Linked DNA regions of Homo sapiens: region 1 is linked to region 2. Evidence: promoter capture Hi-C in 16 types of primary human blood cells and fetal thymus (Javierre and others, 2016). All regions are on one chromosome and are shown on one strand. Each heading gives the region's core, a stretch centred on a gene start or on the middle of the fragment in contact. The rest is flanking DNA. Distances are from core to core; before and after follow the strand shown. Region 1 has its middle 6.3 kb from the start of NKX2-2. Region 2 holds the start of INSM1 (INSM transcriptional repressor 1).

The links. Contacts are between HindIII fragments. The CHiCAGO score rates a contact against its expected background, and 5 or more counts as called.
Region 1: a fragment that was not itself captured here is called in contact with the fragment with the promoter of INSM1 in region 2 in 1 of 17 cell types (fetal thymus); the score reaches 5.7 in fetal thymus.

What each region holds. Positions count from the first base shown.
Region 1 is chr20:21,517,222-21,523,413 of GRCh38, forward strand. It overlaps a transcript of NKX2-2 not described here. Among named protein-coding and RNA genes, the nearest start is that of NKX2-2, 6.3 kb to the left of the region's middle. RefSeq lists an enhancer at 3,668-4,482. The HindIII fragment of the contact is 5,340 bases long and covers 1,857-6,192 here.
Region 2 is chr20:20,363,533-20,369,742 of GRCh38, forward strand. It overlaps INSM1 (INSM transcriptional repressor 1), which reads left to right and starts at 4,572. Exons shown (of 1, transcript NM_002196.3): 1 at 4,572-6,210. The coding sequence starts at 4,736. RefSeq lists an enhancer at 3,665-4,435. The HindIII fragment of the contact is 3,677 bases long and covers 2,914-6,210 here.

The sequences.
Region 1 (6,192 bases), core at 3,277-5,776, 1.2 Mb after region 2:
GCACCTGAGGCGCCCACTTCCCCTGCCCTCGCAGGACGCCTCCTGGACTCCGGCCCCTCCTACACTTTCACCCCAGCGAGTCTTCCAGTTTTTATTTCCCCTGGCCTGGGGGCAGCTGGGCAGGGAGGGAGAGAATTGGAGAGAGCTTCGGCCTTGCCTCCTCCGCGATCGGTGCTTCCGGGTCCACAGCACTCAGCCTCTCCCGGGACCTCGAGACTCATTTCCCCATCACTTCTCGTCCGTGTGGTTCCCGCGTCCATTTCCAGAGCGTTAACATTTGCAATTGAAAAGGCGCTGGGAGACCGCTGGGAGGTCCGTAATTGAAGGGGAGAAACTGGGCTTGTTAGTGGAAGATCATAAAATGCAAGTCCCCCAGGAGCGGCCTGTGGACGCCGGGAGGCCTGCGCAGGCCCAGCTGGCGGCCAGGGCAAGTCCGGTGCCCAGAGCACAGTCCAGTGTCTCCTCAATTTCTTGGGCCCGGCTTGCGCCCAAAGAGCCTAGGGGCCAGGCGCCAAACGCACCTTTTCTGTCCCAATTAAACAGGTGATTGCATCCTGAGGACTCCCCAAGAGGCCTCCCCGAGAGTACCACAGCTAGGCCTTCTAGAGCCCAGGAGCTTTGGTTCTCTGCGATCCCGCACACCCGCAGGCTGAGAGGCCCTGCCCCGCTCCCTTCCCCCTCCGGAGGGTTCTTCAGTAAGGGCCCACCACTCCCACCCTGTCAGCGTCTGCCTGCACCAGTTTCAGCTCCTGGTCTCCCCCACTCGGCATTCTTTAGTAAATTCTTTCCAGGTACCGTCTTGCACCCAAGCGAGTTCAATGTCCTCCGTTCCGTCAAGTTTGGGTTTGAGCTTTGGGCTCAGCTGCCGTGGTCTGGAGACCTCGTAGGCACTCTGCAAGATGCCTCGTTCTGCTGCATGCTTGGGGAGGAAGTTGAGCTGGGTGCTGGAAGTTCTGAACCCAGCATGCCCCGGGCCGGAGGAGATTTGCTTGGTGTCTCCTTAGCGTCCCGAACACCGCGCGCCCCTGCTGGGGTAACCTGAACAGCTGGACCCCTCAACTCGATCTTTATTATCAGCATTGGGGCTCCAGATTCCGTACACATCTCTAGCTCTATTCATTCTTCCTAGGTTGAGAACGGACGCATTGGGAGTCCTACGCCCGGGGGAAAGGCAGGAGAGGGGAGGAAGAGAACCTGTGCCCCTGGAAGCTAGAGGAGAGCCTCGCTCTCTCTGCTGCTCTGGGTTCCGCAACGAATTGAGTTCGGGTTCAGGCGGCTGGAGCGGGCGCGGGGAGGCTGAACAATCGCCGGAGGCCCAGGAGGGGAGGCGAATGTACACAGGCTAAGTGGCCCCACTCCAGGACAAGTGGCCCTCTAAGTCGGCTCAGTGTTTACCTGTTTACTTTCCCAGGTAGCTCAAACACGAGCGCCTTTTCTGCGCTCCAGGGCACGGGGGCCGCCCAGAGGCACCCTGCTTTCCCGGCTTCTGCCCTCCCACGCCTCAGCTTTACGCCCCCTGTTGTGGGGGTGCGCTCTAAACAACAGCAAACCAGGCAAGAAAGGAAGATACAGGAGAGCAGGCGAGGCCTCGGCACACCCTACGGAGGGGAGCCTTTCTTGTGCCTGTGGAAGAAGTGGGCTCCGTGGACGGCATCCGACCCTCCCCCCATCCCTGTTCTGGGCACCTCTTTGGAGACGGCGCTCGCATCCTTCCCCGTTCAAGCCGGTGGTGAAAGCTTGCAGTGCAGGTACCTGCCCCCTGTCCTCCTGGGGAGTAAAGGGCAGAGAAAGTCTTCGGGGGTAGGGGTGGGGTCTTGGGGCCTGCTCTAAAGAGGGGGCGACCTTGAGGAGCCCAAAGCTTCAGCAGCCCTAGGCGGCACACCTCACACTCCCCACCCACAAAAGCGCTTCCAATCATTAAACACACAAGGTCTTTTCCCTTTATTTGGAAACACTAATTTGTTTGACTTCATTTCATTTCTTCGTCTTTTTTTTGGAATGAAAAAGGGTTGAAAAGAAACTCCTTTCCTGGTACAGTATGTGGCTGAGCTCTCAGGCCCTCGCACATCCCATCTCAGATAACAACCTTCAAGTGGATTAGTTTATTGTCTGGTTAGCGCCAAGGTGCAAGCGTTTGTCTTCATTCACTCCGGAAACAAAGCGCGTTGCACCTTCCTGCTCCAGCAAGGATTAACGGCGCGGACACAAAGGTTTTGTCGGAGGGGGAAGGTTTATTTTATCTTGGGTTGGAGACTCAGAGCGTGGCATGCACTTGAAATCAATGGGGAAGGAAAATGTCACCCAATCTGGTCCCTGAGTGTGGCGATAAAGACGTTCACCTTAAGGATGGCATCTCCAAAACAGCCCCACTTTGGCTTCGACTTCCAATGCGGGAGCAGGGGCTGCAGGAAGCAGAGGTGTCAGCTCTCACGTCCTGGATGAAAGAAATAGGGGAATGCACCCCAGGAGTACTACCCCGTGCTGGGACCTTTGCTAACCAGAAAATGAAAATCCATCCCAGCTCCAATTGCCCTCACCTTCTGCCCCCGGAGAAGGAAACAGGGTCATAGGAAATCCCTTCTGTCTGTGGGGTGGCAGAGTGGAGTCTCTGGGTTGGGGAGGCCTAAAGCTGTGTGAGTCTGCAACTTTGGAGAGGCCAGACCGTGCCCGGCAGATCTCTGGCAGGAGAGACTCACAGCCATTGGACAGGTGGACGAGAAAGTGGGCATTAGTGTGAAAAGAAAGGAAATCTCAGCCTGCTTTGGGTTCAAGCCTAAGGTGAGTTTTTTTTTTTCCTTTGGTCCATATTATATTAACTCTTTAAATTGCCCCAGGAAGGGAAGAATGAGTGGATGCCTCCCAGATGGACAATCCTCCCAAGTCAACTAAGAAGGAGTTGGGTAGATAAGTTCTCCAGGCCCAGAGACTTTCAGATTCTGTGTCTGGGGGAAAATCCCCACCCCGTTCCTACAGAGTGGCGGGAACCCCATTGATGCCACGGAGAGAACTGATCCTGGGACCTAGAGCCTGGAGTCCCCCTGCGATTAACTGTGGATGCAGGAGGAAGGCATCTAGGTGAGCTCCCTTCTCCCTATTCTTTTTCAAGGCAAAATATACAACACTTTCCCAATTATCTGCCTCCCTCCCACCACAAAAGGGGCACATATCTCCCAAGGATGTAAATAGTAATAGAAATTAGTATTTGTCTTTCTATTAATCAGCTTCATTGTGTGGGCATAAGACCCTGCGGGCATATGTTAGGACTTTGATAAATGCACTTTAATGAGATCTTTAAAAATGCATCCAATAAAATAAAAGGCGAGGAAAGCCGTTTAACTTTCATGGATGTTAAATTGAACACGAACTGTGGCTCCGGGCACGCTACAAAATGGAACCGGCCTCTCTCCAATATTTTCTTTAAAAACCTAGCTTTAAGCCCCCCTCGGGCCAAACGAGCCTGTCCCAGCCAATCCATTATCACCGGTTTATTGGGGAACCAAACGCCACGTCCCCCTGGGCGAACTCCTTGGCTTTATTCGTTCGCGCTGCTCTAATGACTAAATATGTTACAATGAGATTACGCATCGTCAGTGTTGCCTTCAGGAACGTTCTTTCAGCCAAGCCCGACCTTCCCCGGATGAGGGCGATTTCAATACGGGAGATCTGGGTTTCTCCAGGAAACACGCGCTGAAAGCACTCTCTTATCTGAATTTACTTCTTAACACGTGACAAAATCATTACCACAAGACTTTGGAAAACAAGCGGCTCTCCTAACGGGTTGCATTCAGCACTTAAAGCTGGGTCGGGCAGGCTGATGTGAAAAGTAGTTGTCGGTGGCGCGGAGAAGGCACGCTCTTAGCTGGAGCTAAGGGCTGGTTCCGGGAAGGACAGGGAATGCACCCTTGGGCCCTCGGGCACAGAGAGGGGGTTCCTAGGGCTCTGTCTCTCTCTCTCCAATGTGAGCCCCAGAGGTTCACAACCTTCCCCTAGACGCAACGTCCCCTTTCCACCCCCAAGAGCCACTAAAGTCGAGAAGGCGCCAGAGGAGCTCCAAAGGGCCTCCTGGTAGTGTGTGCGTGTGTGTTGTGGGAGGAGGTTGGGGCGGAGGGGGCGCCCCTCGGAGACAAGGACCCCACCGAGGTTCATTTCTGATCCTCTGGCGATCTCTACTGACACAAACGAGAACTGTCCGGCGCCGGGCGCGGCCCAGGCGACACTCGCCTCCCAAACTCCAGTCTTCAGTCGCCTCTCCAGAGACCTCAGTCCACTGCGCGGGCCCTCAGCCCCGGCTCCTCCTGTCTGCGACTCCCACCACTTGCCCTCGTGCTCATCACCACCGTCCCCTCACGTCCCAGTTCCGTCTGAGGAGAAGCCCCTGTCTCCACTGGGCGCCATCTCCAAATTACCTTCGGGACTTCTGCCTCTGTTTCAATCCCCGATCCCGAGCTCCCTGCGACGCACAGGGGGCGACTTACCCGGTGGAGGTGGGTGCAGCGGCCGCCCCTTCCTCACCGCGGCCCCGCCAGCCGAGGCGCAACCGGCCCCGGGCAATCGGGAGGGAGCTAGCCAGGCGCTCCGCGCGCCCGCTCCGCCTTCTACTCCCGGAGCTGCGGCGACAGCCCCGCCGCATTTCAAGGCGCGTCTTTATCTAGTACTCCACCTACCCGGACCCCCCTCGCTCTGCGCCCTTCCCCCACCGCGCGCCCTACCAGGCGGGGCTCAGGGGACCGCAGGCGGGGACCGCCGCGGGTGCCGCGCCCCTCCCTCCTCCTCCGCCTCCCAGCCCCGCACCTTCCCAGCCCCTGGGACAGTCCCGCTTTCCCTGACCGCACCGGAAAGTGCGCAGCGGCGGGATCACCTGGCCTCGGCGGCTGGTAAAACTTTTCCTGACTGCAGGCGCGACAGAGGGGCCCTGCCCGTCCTCGAGTGCTCGCCACTCCTGCCGTGATCCGCAAAGTCGGGGAGAACTTCGGAGGCCCGCACTTGCCCACCTGCTGCGTCCGGACTACGCGGCTTGGGGATCGAGCCGAGTCAGGACCCGGGAGAGCGAGGGGCTCATAACCGGGGTCCGCCGTGAACCCGAGCTCCGGCGCCGCTCGGCGGCGACGACGGTGCCCCGAGACCCCTCTCTGCTGGCAGGCCGCGGTGACCGTGCCCGGAGCGCGTTCCCGCGCCGGGCGGCTGTGGCAGGAGGACCAGACAGTCAGCGCCTGGCAGCGAGGGCGACGCCGGGCTTCCTCCATCGCCACCGCCGGGCTCCGCTGCGGCTCCCGGGCTCCGCCGGGTGCCCCGCGCCATCCCCATCCCGCGTTCACCGGAAACGCGTGCGAGCTGGAGGCTCACCTGGAGCGCGACTGCGCCGCTGGAGCCTCGGCTGGGCGAGCGCGCAGGTCCCGGCCGCTCTTTATCCCGAGTCGCGGGCGGCTGCGGAGTCGCGGGCGGTCGGGCGGCGGCTCGACGCGGCCGGCGAGCGCTCCCCCTCCCGGCTCCGGGCTCCTGGCTCCAGGCTCCCGGCCCAGCGGCCCCACCCTCCTAGCTCCGGCCCCGCGGCCACCGCGCAGCCCCAGCGGAGGGGGCAGCTCCCCCGCGCCGCGCGCGCTCTGTTTGTTTTCCTTGCCGGACTGACGTGAGTCAAAATATTGGCCATATGTTCAGCGGTAATAAATTGGGTATGAGCGCAAACACACTTGGGCTTCGATGGCTCTTTCAGCTGCCACATGGTAGGCTTTGCGGGGAGGGGGCTTCCACCCCGCCTCGGCCCCCTGCCCCCAAACGCGCGGGTAGATTCCCTCCCTCCTGCGCCCCTCTGAGCAGGAGATCTGGGACCCCAGGTTTCTCCTGACCCTCGCCCCTCCTCCGTCCCCAGCAGTGCCTTGGACTCCGCAGCTCCTGGCGAGCCCGGACTGCTGGTTAACAAGGTCGCCATCTATAAATTGCTCGGTCGCTAAGACGCCATAAAACCAAAGGGCCAGATGTGGCACGTTATTTATGTGTGAAACCGCGTTTACACTAGATACGCGGATCCAAGGCCGATAGCACGACTTCGCGGGAGGTCACAGACCTCTCGCCCCGGCTCCAGGCTCCTCCCCCAGCACGATCTCCTCTCCAGGTTGAGGGGTGTCGGTCTTGCCGGGAAAGGGATTCACCCCTGCAGCCCAGGAGGAAAGTGATTTCAGTGCGCTTGTGCCAAAA
Region 2 (6,210 bases), core at 3,322-5,821:
GAAGAGACAGAAGGAGAGAGAAGGACAGGAGGAGGGAGAGGAGGCGGATGACACAAGGAGGGAACCAGAGGGCGAGGGAGGAGAGCAGGGACGGGAGAAGAGGGAAAGGCGGAGGAGAGAGGAACGGCGGTGGGGGGGGAGGAGCACCCGCCAACCCCATAGCAAGAACGCTCGCCAGGGTAGAAAGTATGCCCTTGTGGACCCCAGGAGTCTGGCTGCCTCTTCGTCCTCCTGCGGCAGGCGAGGCGGGGTGCAGGTGTGAGTGGGGTGGGAGGAAGGGGAAAGGATCGGGGTCGCCGCAGCCTTTCTGGTCAGTTTCGCTGGGTTTTGTCAGTTCCGTTTGAGACCGAGGCGCACGGACTAGCGGCCGCCAGCACCTCACAGGTGGAGGACACCTCTTGCGCCCCAAGGTCAATGTCATCCCGATGGGTCCCGTGCCGTCCTGACTCTCCCTGACCTAATTCTTTGGTTATGACTTTCTCACCTTCTGGGCTTCGCCTCTGCCAGCTTTCGCCGACGTCGCCCTTCCCGCCGCCCGCCCGGGCCTTCCTACCCGCTCTCCTCCCTCCCTGGCCCGACGGTCCCACTGAGGCAAAAACAAACAGCCCTGAGGGCACTTCAAGGAGCGTGCAGTGGCCCCGACGGTACTCTCGGGGGGATAAAAGAGGTGGCCAGCCACGCCGTCGGCCCCCGGCCGAATAATGGGCGCGCAGCAGATTGCCAGGGGGCACTTGAAACTCGAGGGGAGGGAAATACTTGAGCGCGGTCCCTCCCCGCGAGGACGCACGACGCAGCCTCGCGGATCGTCCCTTGTTCGCTCTCTTTCATGCACTCTCCTTTTGTGTGGAATTATCTAAACGGGAGATCCCTGGCAGCTTTATGCTAATGCGCCGAACAAAGGCAACGGCCCGCGGGCGGGAGGCCCGGAAGGTGCCTGGGGCCGGGCCGGGCGGGGTGGCGGCCAGGCGGGCTGCGCGTGTCTCTCGCGTGCCCCTGGGACTGACACAACAACCCCTCATTCCTGCAAATACAAAGCCTCTCACCGGCTCGGGTCGGGCGCACCCGGCGCAGGGAGGCGCTGGTCCCTCCGGGCGGCGGGCACTGCAGCGGTAACGCACGGTTCCTGCCGGTTGTGGCTCGGGGGACTGAGGGCCGGGAGTGGGGGCTTCTGTGAAGCCAGAAGAGAAGTCTGCAGCAGAGTGGTGATGAGGGGCGCTGACACCTCACCCCCAACGCCGACGTCTCCAAACGCGATACCCTCTGCGGGGTGAGAATGCGGGCCCGCCCGGCTCCTCCCGTGAGGCCAGGGCCTCCTGTTCTCCTAGACACCCCAAGGAGCCAACTCCTCCGCAGAAGTTCCCCGCTTCTGCTCTTATTTCCAAGCTTCGCGCTTTCTACAAACTCCCTGTTGCCTTGACTTTGATTTCCAGCCGTGGTGAGGGTCAGAGTGAACCCCGGCGCGCTCCCCGACGGCATCCCCGCACACCAGGATAGGAGAAATTGGAGGGCCTGGGGCCTCGGGCTCCGCAGTCGTCGGAGGAAGAACCCACCGCGGGGTCCGCAAGGGAAAGTGAAGAGGCCCGGGATTTTTCCAAAGCGCTGGCCAGGACCCCGAAGGAAGGGGAGGAGTCACCTGAAGCCGGGGAAGGCCCCTTGGGTGCTCTGCCTTGGATCCTTATGTTCACTGACTTTCGCGAAGCCCCCCTGGAGGGGGGCAAATCCGCGCTGTTTCCCCCAACTTAACTTCACGCGGCCCATTCTCCGAATCGCGTGCGCCAAGGCCGGCGTCGGGGGCGCACTGTGATGGCGCTTTGCTCTTCCCAGGCGAAGACAAATATCTCGACCCGATGTCCCCATGCATGCGGGTGCACAGGTTCTGAGAAAATCACGCAGAAGGCGGCTGCGATCCACGGCCCGGGCTGGGCTACACCTGCTTGGAGGTCGCTGGTGTGTGCGTGCGCGCGTGCGCAGCCTAACTCCTTCCAGCCCCGGGTGGTGAAATTAGTTTCCAATACTAGTACCTTTCAAGTTTCCATTTATTTTGACTGTACCCGTCTGAAAGCAGATTTCATTTACGCTAGCAAGACTGGAAGCCACAAATAAAGAAAAAGAAACGGATTCATTGAATCTCAGTATCTCAGTAGCGTTTAATAGATTCCCTTGGCTAAATTCAGAGCCCTGTTTGAATTCACTCACGCAGGAGTTGTTTTGTTTTTTTTGTTGGTAGAGGTGCCGGTTTCCCATCCCCACGGCTTATTTACAATTATGGGTGTTGTTATTTTTAAAGGATTCACAAGGTGACTAACTCTCTGTTATCTGTTGAATGGAAGGAGTGTTACATATGCAAGACCGAATGGGGCAGGCCGAGCCCCCGCCCTATGCTATTCTACAATCCAGATGGGATTCGTGATTAGAAAATAAAATTGGCCAAAGCTGTCTCGGAATCCTTTTCCCACTTCTAATTTCATCAGCACTATTAATCAGAGCTCAAAAGAGCAAGGAAATAACATCAGTTACTTTTAGATAGAAATATGTTTATAAATTTTAGATAAACTCATTTTAAGATTTCTAACTTTTGGGGAGACTAGCACTCACCACAGCATTTTTAAAACTAGGGTGAGACTTTTCAAAATATATTTCACTATATGCATTCTTCCCTTTTCAGTGTGTGAGTTAAAATATTACAAACATAAAATTATCAAATATCTTTCCCTTGATTAACCAACCTGATTAACCCCTTAATTAATTAAGCCTAACAACTGTCCCCATCACAACTTATGACTCATGTGGACTCTATTTTTACATGTTTAATTTCTACGCCAGGGTATTTTCAGAGGGAAAATCCAAAACAATTAAATACCTTCAGTGGAATTAAGCGTAAGTAAAACTCAGCAAAATCTGTCTGGTATACAAAGCTTTGCAGAAAAATGTTTCCTTCTCTTTCAATAAAGTGACATTTTCCTCACAGCATATGACATTTTATGTGGCTTGGCTATTTGTTCCCCAGTGTTGGACGATCAGGGCCACTACGCACTCGTGGGGTTCTCTGCCCTGTCCCCCGAAGATTCTGCCTTTTGTGTTTCCTCGGGGCTGGGCTGGACAGAGGATGGAGGCAGGCGGCCCAGTCTGGGTCCAAACGGAACGGCAGCGGAGGTGGGGGTGGGGGTGGGGGCGGGGGGAATCTTCGCTGTTGTCTCTTCCTGGTGGCACAGGGGAGGCGGCTTGTCCTCTCGGAGGCCTCAGCCTGCCTCAGAGTACAGATTGCCCCCCCTCCCCCCGTCCAGCACGCGTCTCTTTTGCGTCCAGATTGGCCGCGACCGGAGCTCAATAGCAGGAGGTTAATTTCCTTCACAAAGGTGAAGGGGGCACGGCTCCGTGGGGGCTGCGCCCAGACAGGCAGCCCCTTTATTTCGCAGCGCCTTGATTGGAGCCCTTGATTTAGCATCTGATGTCAACCGGCAAACAAAATGCCCGCTCGGAATGAAAATGCATGAGGCCGCGCGGGGAGGAGAAAGCCAACTTCACTGGGGCGCACGAGGCCGACCGCGCGTTTCGGGCTTCGGCCAACTCGACCCGGATTAACCGAGCCTTGGACCACGCGGAAGCTCCGGGCGGCCTGGGTCGGGCCCCGCCAAAGATGCCATTCCCAAGCCTCCAAGAACCCAAAAGTTCAGAAATTCACGTTCCTCTGGGAACCCAGCCCAGCCCGCCCGCGCTCCAATCCCGCGCTTTCGGGAGACTGAGAAGGCCGTGCCAATTCCTTCTCAAACTCGAAAGAAACCTTCTCTAGCCCCGTGGGCGCGCGGAGGCTGCGAGCACAAACATCGCCCTCGGCCACTGCCAGAAGGCCGGGCCCCCTGTCCACACTTGGAACCCCGGGGAACCCTTTTGCTTGGCCTCTTGGGTCCAGCGGCCCATCCGTCCAAGGTCCGGGCGGAGGCCGTCCGGACCCTGCTGCTCTCTCGGATTCTTGTTTATTTCCCAAACACCACGCGGAGCCACTGCGCCTCCGCAACGATCTCCCCCGCACCGCCCCGGCGCGCCCCCGCCCCCACCCAATCAGCGCGCACAACTTCCCCCTCGGCTCCGGCTCGCGGATTGAACCCTCCTGACATATTTGGGGCCATTCTTCTCCTTTGTTGCTATTTTGCTAGCGACCCGCGGGTAATCCCCGCGCGGGAGGGGGGCGTGCATTGTCGCGCTGATGGACGGGCCCATTTGGCGGCTCCGCGCCCCCCGGAGGAGAGACACAAAGCCCAGGCACGTGCGCCTCCCCATAGAGAAGCAGCAGACCGTGAAGGGAGGCGGGGCCGGGCGTGTGCCTGGACCGGGCGGGGCGGCGGCGCCGGGCGGGGCGACCAGGGGCGCGCGCGGGGGCCCCGCGCCCTCAGGTACATCTGCCGCACCTACCGGGCGACCCCCGAGTCCCGGCCCCCTTTTGGCCGCCCCATCGCCCTCCCACCCTGCCAGGCTGAGGAGCTGCGGACGCGCTGATTGGCTCCAGGGGAAGCGGGAGGCGAGAACAATGGCCCCCTCCCCCCGTTAAAAGGGAGCGGCTGCCGGGCCCGGGGACAGGGACGCGCGTGCAGGGCGCAGAGCTGGGCCGAGCCGTCGCCGGCGCCACGCGAGTCCCGCAGCCGCCGCGCCCGGGCAATGGGCCGGGGGCACTGAGGGCCGCCGGGGCCGAGCGCGGAGGGGGGACCGAGCCAGTGCCGTGCCCTCGGGCCGCGCCAACATGCCCCGCGGCTTCCTGGTGAAGCGCAGCAAGAAGTCCACGCCCGTTTCCTACCGGGTCCGCGGCGGCGAGGACGGCGACCGCGCACTGCTGCTCTCGCCCAGCTGCGGGGGCGCCCGCGCCGAGCCCCCGGCGCCGAGCCCGGTCCCCGGGCCGCTGCCGCCGCCGCCGCCCGCGGAGCGCGCCCATGCAGCGCTCGCCGCCGCGCTTGCCTGCGCGCCTGGGCCGCAGCCACCCCCGCAGGGCCCGCGGGCCGCGCACTTCGGCAACCCCGAGGCTGCGCACCCCGCGCCGCTCTACAGTCCCACGCGGCCCGTGAGCCGCGAGCACGAGAAGCACAAGTACTTCGAACGCAGCTTCAACCTGGGCTCGCCGGTCTCGGCCGAGTCCTTCCCCACGCCCGCCGCGCTGCTCGGAGGGGGCGGCGGCGGCGGCGCGAGCGGAGCTGGCGGAGGCGGCACCTGCGGCGGCGACCCGCTGCTCTTCGCGCCCGCCGAGCTCAAGATGGGCACGGCGTTCTCGGCTGGCGCCGAGGCGGCCCGCGGCCCGGGCCCCGGCCCCCCACTGCCCCCTGCCGCCGCCCTGCGGCCCCCGGGAAAGCGGCCCCCGCCCCCTACCGCCGCGGAGCCGCCCGCCAAGGCAGTCAAGGCCCCGGGCGCCAAGAAGCCCAAGGCCATCCGCAAGCTGCACTTCGAGGACGAGGTGACCACGTCGCCCGTGCTGGGGCTCAAGATCAAGGAGGGCCCGGTGGAGGCGCCGCGGGGCCGCGCGGGGGGCGCGGCGCGGCCGCTGGGCGAGTTCATCTGCCAGCTGTGCAAGGAGGAGTACGCCGACCCGTTCGCGCTGGCGCAGCACAAATGCTCGCGCATCGTGCGTGTGGAGTACCGCTGTCCCGAGTGCGCCAAGGTCTTCAGCTGCCCGGCCAACCTGGCCTCGCACCGCCGCTGGCACAAACCGCGGCCCGCGCCCGCCGCCGCCCGCGCGCCGGAGCCAGAAGCAGCAGCCAGGGCTGAGGCGCGGGAGGCACCCGGCGGCGGCAGCGACCGGGACACGCCGAGCCCCGGCGGCGTGTCCGAGTCGGGCTCCGAGGACGGGCTCTACGAGTGCCATCACTGCGCCAAGAAGTTCCGCCGCCAGGCCTACCTACGCAAGCACCTGCTGGCGCACCACCAGGCGCTGCAGGCCAAGGGCGCGCCGCTAGCGCCCCCGGCCGAGGACCTACTGGCCTTGTACCCCGGGCCCGACGAGAAGGCGCCCCAGGAGGCGGCCGGCGACGGCGAGGGGGCCGGCGTGCTGGGCCTGAGTGCGTCCGCCGAGTGCCACCTGTGCCCAGTGTGCGGAGAGTCGTTCGCCAGCAAGGGCGCTCAGGAGCGCCACCTGCGCCTGCTGCACGCCGCCCAGGTGTTCCCCTGCAAGTACTGCCCGGCCACCTTCTACAGCTCGCCCGGCCTTACGCGGCACATCAACAAGTGCCA